Regions from separate parts of the Homo sapiens genome. Here region 1 is linked to region 2. The links are contacts of gene promoters, found by promoter capture Hi-C in human tissues and cell types (Jung and others, 2019). All regions are on one chromosome and are shown on one strand. Each heading gives the region's core, a stretch centred on a gene start or on the middle of the fragment in contact. The rest is flanking DNA. Distances are from core to core; before and after follow the strand shown. Region 1 overlaps WDR48 (WD repeat domain 48). Region 2 holds the start of CX3CR1 (C-X3-C motif chemokine receptor 1).

What was found. The method cuts DNA at HindIII sites, captures the fragments that hold promoters and counts their contacts. A contact is called where the count stands out against the background at its distance.
Region 1: a contact is called between a fragment that was not itself captured here and the fragment with the promoter of CX3CR1 in region 2, in 1 of the 25 tissues and cell types used here (adrenal gland).

What each region holds. Positions count from the first base shown.
Region 1 is chr3:39,079,929-39,083,652 of GRCh38, forward strand. The region is part of intron 11 of WDR48 (WD repeat domain 48); the gene reads left to right. Among named protein-coding and RNA genes, the nearest start is that of GORASP1, 26 kb to the right of the region's middle. The HindIII fragment of the contact is 3,405 bases long and covers 1-3,252 here.
Region 2 is chr3:39,278,356-39,282,020 of GRCh38, forward strand. It overlaps CX3CR1 (C-X3-C motif chemokine receptor 1), which reads right to left and starts at 1,681. Exons shown (of 2, transcript NM_001337.4): 1 at 1,599-1,681. The HindIII fragment of the contact is 7,786 bases long and covers 1,199-3,665 here.

The DNA of each region.
Region 1 (3,724 bases), core at 300-2,799, 200 kb before region 2:
TGGTATATACTTTCTTATATGAATATTAGATAAGATCATAATTCATCTTTTTAAGTAAATAAACTGTTTAAATGGAATCATTTTCTCTGGTTAGTGTATTGCAGACAATCTTATATGCTGCCTTACCTTAAAAGTCTCATCCTTGTAGCTATTGACATCTTAAGCCAGATAATTATTTGGAGGTGGAGGAGGGGGCAGGTAGGGGGCTATTCCATGCATTGTAGGATGTTTAGAACATCTCTAGCCTCCACCCAGTAGTTGCCAGTAATACCCCTCCCTCCCCCTAGGTGTGGCAACCACAAGTGTCTCCACATGTTGCCAGATGTTTGGAGGGAGGAAGAATGGTGTAAAATCACCCTAGATGAGACACACTGGAGTGCACACAATAAGGTTGGCTGTTTCTTAGGATTTATAGACATCACTATGAGCATTAGTTACAACTCTGGGTCATGTTACAATAACTCCTTCTGGGACAGTTGAAATGCATGAAGCTATTCAATCACATTCCAAATAGCAGTGAAGCATTTGTAGGCAGATTAAAAAGTTAGTCTGCTTTTATCATTCTCACAAGTCTCTCTCTTAGTGTTGTTGGTATACTTGTTCATTTGTTCAACAGATATTTCCTAGATGGAATGACTGTCATGTGCAAAGAACCATGCTTGAGGGTCATAAATGATGAAAAAGTCTTTACCTTGATCCCCTTTGGTAGGAGGGACAAGTGGAATGGGAAAACCTTATAGATAAAGAAGGAACAGATTTCAGGATAGCTTATGGATGAGGGAAGTCAGGAGAGCTTCGTGGTGGAGAAATCATTTGAACAAGGACTTAAAGGTTTCCAGTAGATGCATAATGGGAGTAGAAGGAAGAGCATTTCAGGAAAAGGAAATGAATGGCAGAGGCACAGGAAAAGGATGGTATGTGCTTATTTGGGGCAAGGTGAGCAGTTTTGTTTATTTGGAGACCAGAGTAAATATAAGGAAGTAACAGGGGTGTAAGATTGAAAAATGACATTTAGGTCATTTCCCAAAGAGCCTTAAGCTGCAGGACCCAAAGTTGGCCTTTCTTTTGTACTCCTAGAAGAACCTTAGATAATTTTAGAGCAGGAAAATCTCATGTTGAGGGCAGTAGTTGTTAGTGTATGTAATGGGAAACTGAAAGCTGGAAGACGTCATGATTGGAGATCTAAAGGAAGAGACATGAGCACCATAGGAAAGGTTAAATAAATAAATAAAAATAAAGGACGAGACAGGTGTTGAGCTTATTATAAAGGAAGAATTGAAAACAGCTGGTATTTTGGTTAAGCTCCTGGTTATAAAGAAAAGAGATTCACTTAATGAACTAAAGAATAAGACAGGCAAGTTTCTTGCTAGGAAAAAGGGACTGTCACTGAACAGAAACCTTGGCTTGACTACCATTTTTGCTCCCTGTGGGACATCTATGTGGGAAGTCCATTATGAAACAGTTGTTTGGTGAGCATTGCTTCAGAATGAGAGGCTTTAGTTCTTTGAGTAGAAAGTTTAGTTGCGGCAAGCTTCAAAAATCTGATTAGTTTTTCTCTACAATAGAGAGATGCCTGTTGGGGGTGGGGGTAGAAACACATTGATTTCAGAGAGGGTTCTCTTGGGGACTGGCAGGATCCAGAACAGCCCTAAGAAACTCATCAGCAGAAATTATTGATTCTTCACTTTGATACTCTACCACAAATGTGTCCCTAACTCTGTCCTGTGGCTGGACTTCGCCTCATGCTGCCCAGGACCTAATTGTCTCCAGAATACCCAAGAGAATCTGATCAGGCCAGCTCCTCTTTGAGAGTTGACCTATCTGTTTTCTGTATATGGGTCTGTTGCCCACTCTTGGTCTGGTTAACTGAGGCCTGAGTAGAATCCTGCTGTCTGAATGGGAGGTACTTCTACTTAGATGGGGCCAGCATACATCATGATTGGCATTTCTGTGTACCTAGCAGCTTCCCATATCTAGACCTTGAAGTTTTGATATCAAATGATCTGGTGTAATAGACGTGGCTAAACAGTGTGGGACAGTCAGGAGTTTTTTAGGAACATTGGCTTGGGAGTTGGACAGAGCTGCATTCTAACCTTGGCTGTGCCAAATACTCGCCAAGTGATCTACGGAATATGCTAGGGAACATCTCTAAAATGGTTTCTTCATTCCTAAAATGTCGGGGGTGCCTATTATTGGTGATGTTGAGAAGCACAGTGTCTGGTACATAATAGGAGGCTGTTGCACTAATACAGGTGAAAGGTGATATTTGTCTAGACTAGGGTGGGAACAAGGGGGATGGAAAAAATCGAATGATTAGGAAAATATTTAGGCCTGTGAACAAGAGTGATACTTTTTTTTTTCTTTTTTTTTTGATACGGAGTCTCATTCTGTTGCCCCGGCTGGAGTGCAGTGGCGCAACCTCAGCTCACTGCAACCTCTGACTCCCTGGTTCAAGCGATTCTCCTGCCTCAGCCTCCCGAGTAGCTGGGATTACAGGCATGCACCACCACATCGGGCTAATTTTTGTATTTTTAGTAGAGACAGCGTTTCTCCTTGTTGGCCAGGATGGTCTCGATCTCCTGGCCTCATGATCTGCCCGTCTTGGCCTCCCACAGTGCTGAGATTACAGGCATGAGCAACCGTGCCTGCCCACAGGAGTGATACTTTAATGAAAGGAGTATGAGGAAAGGAAAAAGCAAGAATGAGTCCCAGATTTCTTGATTGTCCAGTTTGGTGAATGGAAGTGATGTAGGGAATGTAAGATGAAAAACAGGTTATCAGGAGAAAAGGACATGCTGAGAAAGATGTTGAATTTGAGTTTCTGTGGGATATCTGAATAGAGGTGTTTGGTGGGCAGACAGCTGTACAGTCTCATGCACAGTTAAAGAACTGGGCTGGAGAAAAAGGCTCAGCAGTCATCAGCTTGTGGGTTACAGTTTGATGTCATAGGAAATGTCAGAGTTTCCAAGGGACATATGTAGACTGAGAAGAAACTAAGTCATCAGTCTTTCAGGGATGTTGGGAAAAGAGGAAGCCACAATAGTATATGATTTTAAAAAGTTGCGGGGGAGTAAGAAAATGAAGAGCCAGTGGCAGCTCCAGAACTAATTGAGTGTTTCAAGAAGAAGCTTGCGGTTAGTGGCATTAACCTGCTGTGAGTTGATTTAAGATGTGACTAACATCATGGATTTAAATAAAGAGGGTGGCCTCTGGGTAGAGTCTTAAGGGCAAAAGCCAGGTAGAGTGAGTTGAGTAGTGATTTGAAGGTGAAGAAACAGAAAATTTGACTGGATAATCTTTGAAGAAATTTGATTGGAGGGGTAGGCAGGAAGCGGCGGAAACTAGAGAAGATGTAGGAGTCAGAGGGCCAAAGGAAGCTTTTGATTTTGTTTGGTTTTGTTTGGATATTTGGGTATTTTTCAGATGTAAGAAATTTGAGCATATTTCATTGCTCCTGGGAAGAAGCCAGTAGAGACATTCATGGGTAGATGACAATACAAGGTCATCCCAAGAAGCAAGAGGTGAGGGGGACCGGAGCACAGTCAGAAGGGACACCGTTTTCCTTGCACCAGGGAGAATGATAGAGAAAGTTAAGGGGATTCTGTCAAGGCTTCTCTTTGTTTTGAGAAAAAGGAATCAGAGTCATGTGCTGAGGATAATGGGGAAGGTGGCAAGGTCAGAGGTAGAAGAGAGATTTAGTTGAGATGGACTGCAAGACAGTGAC
Region 2 (3,665 bases), core at 431-2,930:
CACCCTAGCCTTCCTGAGCCCATTTCTCATTCCCAGGGGTTTTGAACCCCAATCCACTGCCCCCATTCCCAACCCACAGTGGTCCTCAAGGCTCTCCAGCACAGGTCCGTCACCCACCCTGCCTCCTCTCAGGAAACCCAGCTCCCTCCAAAGCGCCCTCTGGGCCTGGGATGCCCTGAGCAATGCAAGCTTTCTTGCCTGCTTTCACGTGGTTCAATTTTCCTTTTTTTTTGGCTCAATTTTTTTCTGCCTCAAGTTTTCTACCTCAAGTATTTCAAAAATTAATTTTTTTTTCTTTTCTTTTTTTTTTTTTTTTTTGTGGAGTGGGTGTTGAAAGAATCCTAAACTTTCTTAGCCATTCTCTGGACTGAGCTATAAACTCACAAAGCAAGGATTGCAGGCTCTGTGAGGCTGTGATTGCCAGAGGCAAGGCAAGAGAAATAACAAGCCGTGGTCAGTCCTCAGCTGGGGCCTCTGATGGATTTCCTCCTGTCTTGCACTCATAATTTCTTTCTGAAGACCATGTTTTCCACCCACACAAACCTGAGCCTGAGTATCCTCACAATGGTTATAACAACATATATCAAAATTGAACACTAAATTTGTGCCAGGAATTTATTAATGGAGAAACCCCGCCTCTACTAAAAATACAAAATTAGCCGGGCGGTGGTACATGCCTATAATCCCAGCTACTTGGGAGGCTGAGGCAGGAGAATCACTTGAACCCAGGAGGCAGAGGTTGCAGTGAGCCGAGACTGTGCCATTGCACTCCAGCTTAGGCAACAAGAGCAAAACTCCGTCTCAAAAAACAAAACACAAACAAGAAAGAAAACCCAAAAAACAAAAAACAAACAAAAACCCATAGATGGTACAAAAAGTGGAAGAAAAAGGAAAAAAAAACCCATGAAACTATCTGCAATGCAGTTTCCTAGAATCAACCACAGTAATCTTTTAGCTTTTCTCTATCTAAATGTTATACATATTTTATATTTATATTAAGTGCATTTATATTTATATTAAAATACAGATACAAATTTAAAAACTCTTTATTATTAAATTTTCAAATAAAAAGCAACTTTTCAAATAAAAGCAGCGAGAACCTCCTTATACCCAACACCTGGCTTCAACTATTAGCAACCCATGGTCAATATTTCCTCTATTTCCCACTTAATGTCTCTACTGAATTATTTAATTTCACCCATAAACACTTGTGTGCATCTCTAAAAGTTAAGGACTCTTTTTTGAAAAAGACTTTAATACAATTTCTCATCTCAAAAAATTAGCAATAATTCCTCAACAGCATCCAGATGCAATTTTTCATGCTTTTTTCAGTTAGTTTAAAATCATGAGCTTTTCTCCATGTCTCTAAAATGTAATTACTAATGCTTCTAATACTATTCCACCAGGTTGAGTGTATTATAAATGATCTGATCACCCCTTGCCTCCCACTCTTCCATCCCCTTGGACATATTTAGGCTACAACATCCCCAGGAAAATGGTTTCCATTGTCTGCACGTAAGCAAACAGGCATTATTAACCTATTAGCTGTCCACTGCTCCACCCCACCCACAGGTACCCAACTAGTCCTGTGCACCTACCTGGCGTGGACTGCCAAGGGAACCTCTGGATCTGCCAGTCAGCCACCCTGTCCTGCTCAGACTTTACCAGAGACGAGTATTTCCCTTTCCTTCCCTCTAAGAGCATTTTATTTGCAGAGTTAGCCAATAGTATCTTGTTTCCTGTAAGGGAGACTATCTTTAGATGCTGCCACAGGCAAGCTCAGATACTCCAGGGTGGAGGCCAGCTGCCAACAGGAGGGCCTGACTTTATAAACCTGGAAGATCTAAACCTCAGGGAAGACTGCGGAGCTGGAGGGAGAGAGGTGCCACTTACCCCAACCTGGAGGTGGGGGGCAGGGAGCAGGCCCTGCAGTCAGCAAAGCACAGCACAGTCAGCTCTCATTAATGGGGAGCCTTCAGGAAGCTGGGAGAGCTCATGGGGCCCTCAGCTTCCCTGCCCACGAGAGGGAGCCCAGAGTACTCACTGGACCACACTGGGGCACACACAGCTCTTCTCCTCAAAGTGCAGTCCCAGGCACTGGGAGCTTATTAAAGACAGCACCTCAAGCCCTGCCCTATATCTGCTGAATTAGAATCTGCATTTTAATGAAATTCTTAGAAGAGTGATATGCATACTAAGTTTGAGAAGCTTTGGTACTGAAGGCATCTAGTGAGTACCTTGCACCTTGTAGATGCTCGGTAAATATTTTTTTCCTCACCTCTCTGCCCCAAGGCATTTAGTGGCTCCCTATACCCATCAGTCAAGGCTGAGGACACAGCTTTCACCCAGGACCTGGCCTATGCTCCTTTCACAGTCTCTCCCCCTGCCACTCTTGCCCTGCAGTGGGGAGCCTGGTGGGCTCCGGCATCCAGCCATGCTTCTGCTCCCTGGCCTGGCCAGCTTGGGGCGACTGCAACGTGAATCTCAACTGCCACTGCCTCATCACCTTCCGATCACTTCATTACCTGCCTGACCCCTGGCATATGCTATATAATTCTGATCCATCCCTAACTAGGGCCTGGCCCATGGTGGCCTTCAATACACCTTCATTAAATGGTCTGTGACCCCTTCAAGGCCCCTCTGGCCCCTTGCTGCCCACATCCCAGCCACATCCGGTGCTCCCTTACCTCTAGTCGCTGTGGTGTTCCGAGGACAGCGGGTGCTCTGTGTGCTCCCCACCTTGCCCCTCCTCACCTCCCCCAACCCCAGGACAGAGCTGGGGGCTGCAGTGCAGTGCTGCGGGCTTGGTGGCCTGCTCATGGTGGAAGAAGTCCACCAGCAGTTTTCTTTCTTTGTTCTTGGTCTCAGTGTTTGGCCACCTTTCCCTGCCTTTGGCCAGAAGGCCACAGGACAAAAGCAGAGTCAGGCCGCTCCCCATCCACTTTCTGACACTGGCCCCTCCCCACCCCACACCACCCCTTGATACCTCTCCTGGGGTCCACTCAGCTGGGCTGGCTGCCTCAGCCCCTTCCTTGCCTCTGACTCCCCTCCTCTTCTGAGGGCTCCTTTCTTGGATCTGGCCAAGACTCTCCCTCTCTTCCTGTCCCACACTCTTGACGACAGTCTCATCCACCCCACATCAGTAATCCCCTCCGTGTTCATGAGCACACATCTCTACCTCCATCCAGGGCCTGGATAATTTCCCAAGCCCATCTAACCTTCTCCGTTCTCTGTCTTTCCTCTCACCACTTACCCCACTGGCCATTCTCCACCCAGAAGCCAGAGAGCTCTTCCTGAAATCCAAGTCTGCCAACTTAAACGCCTCCAGGGGTTCTCTCATCCTGGTTTAAGTCCACGGCCTGGTAAGCACGGCCCGCCCCTTCTCACTTCCTACTGTGCTCTCACCACTTCCACTTCCCCCAACATGCCTGTGCCCGTGGCAGGCTCTCTTCCCTTCCCAACTCACCTGGCTGTCCTGTCCAGGACGTGATTTTACCCTCTTTTAAAGCTAACGGCTATGTTCCACAGCTGCTAGCAGCACAGGGCTTCATGCTTGGCAAGCATGAGAACCAGCGTCCAGTGTCAGTTGCCTTGCCCCCAAGCCCCACAGAGTGATGCCATGGCTTGGATAGATACCTGTGAATGTGTGAGGGATGGGGAGGTTA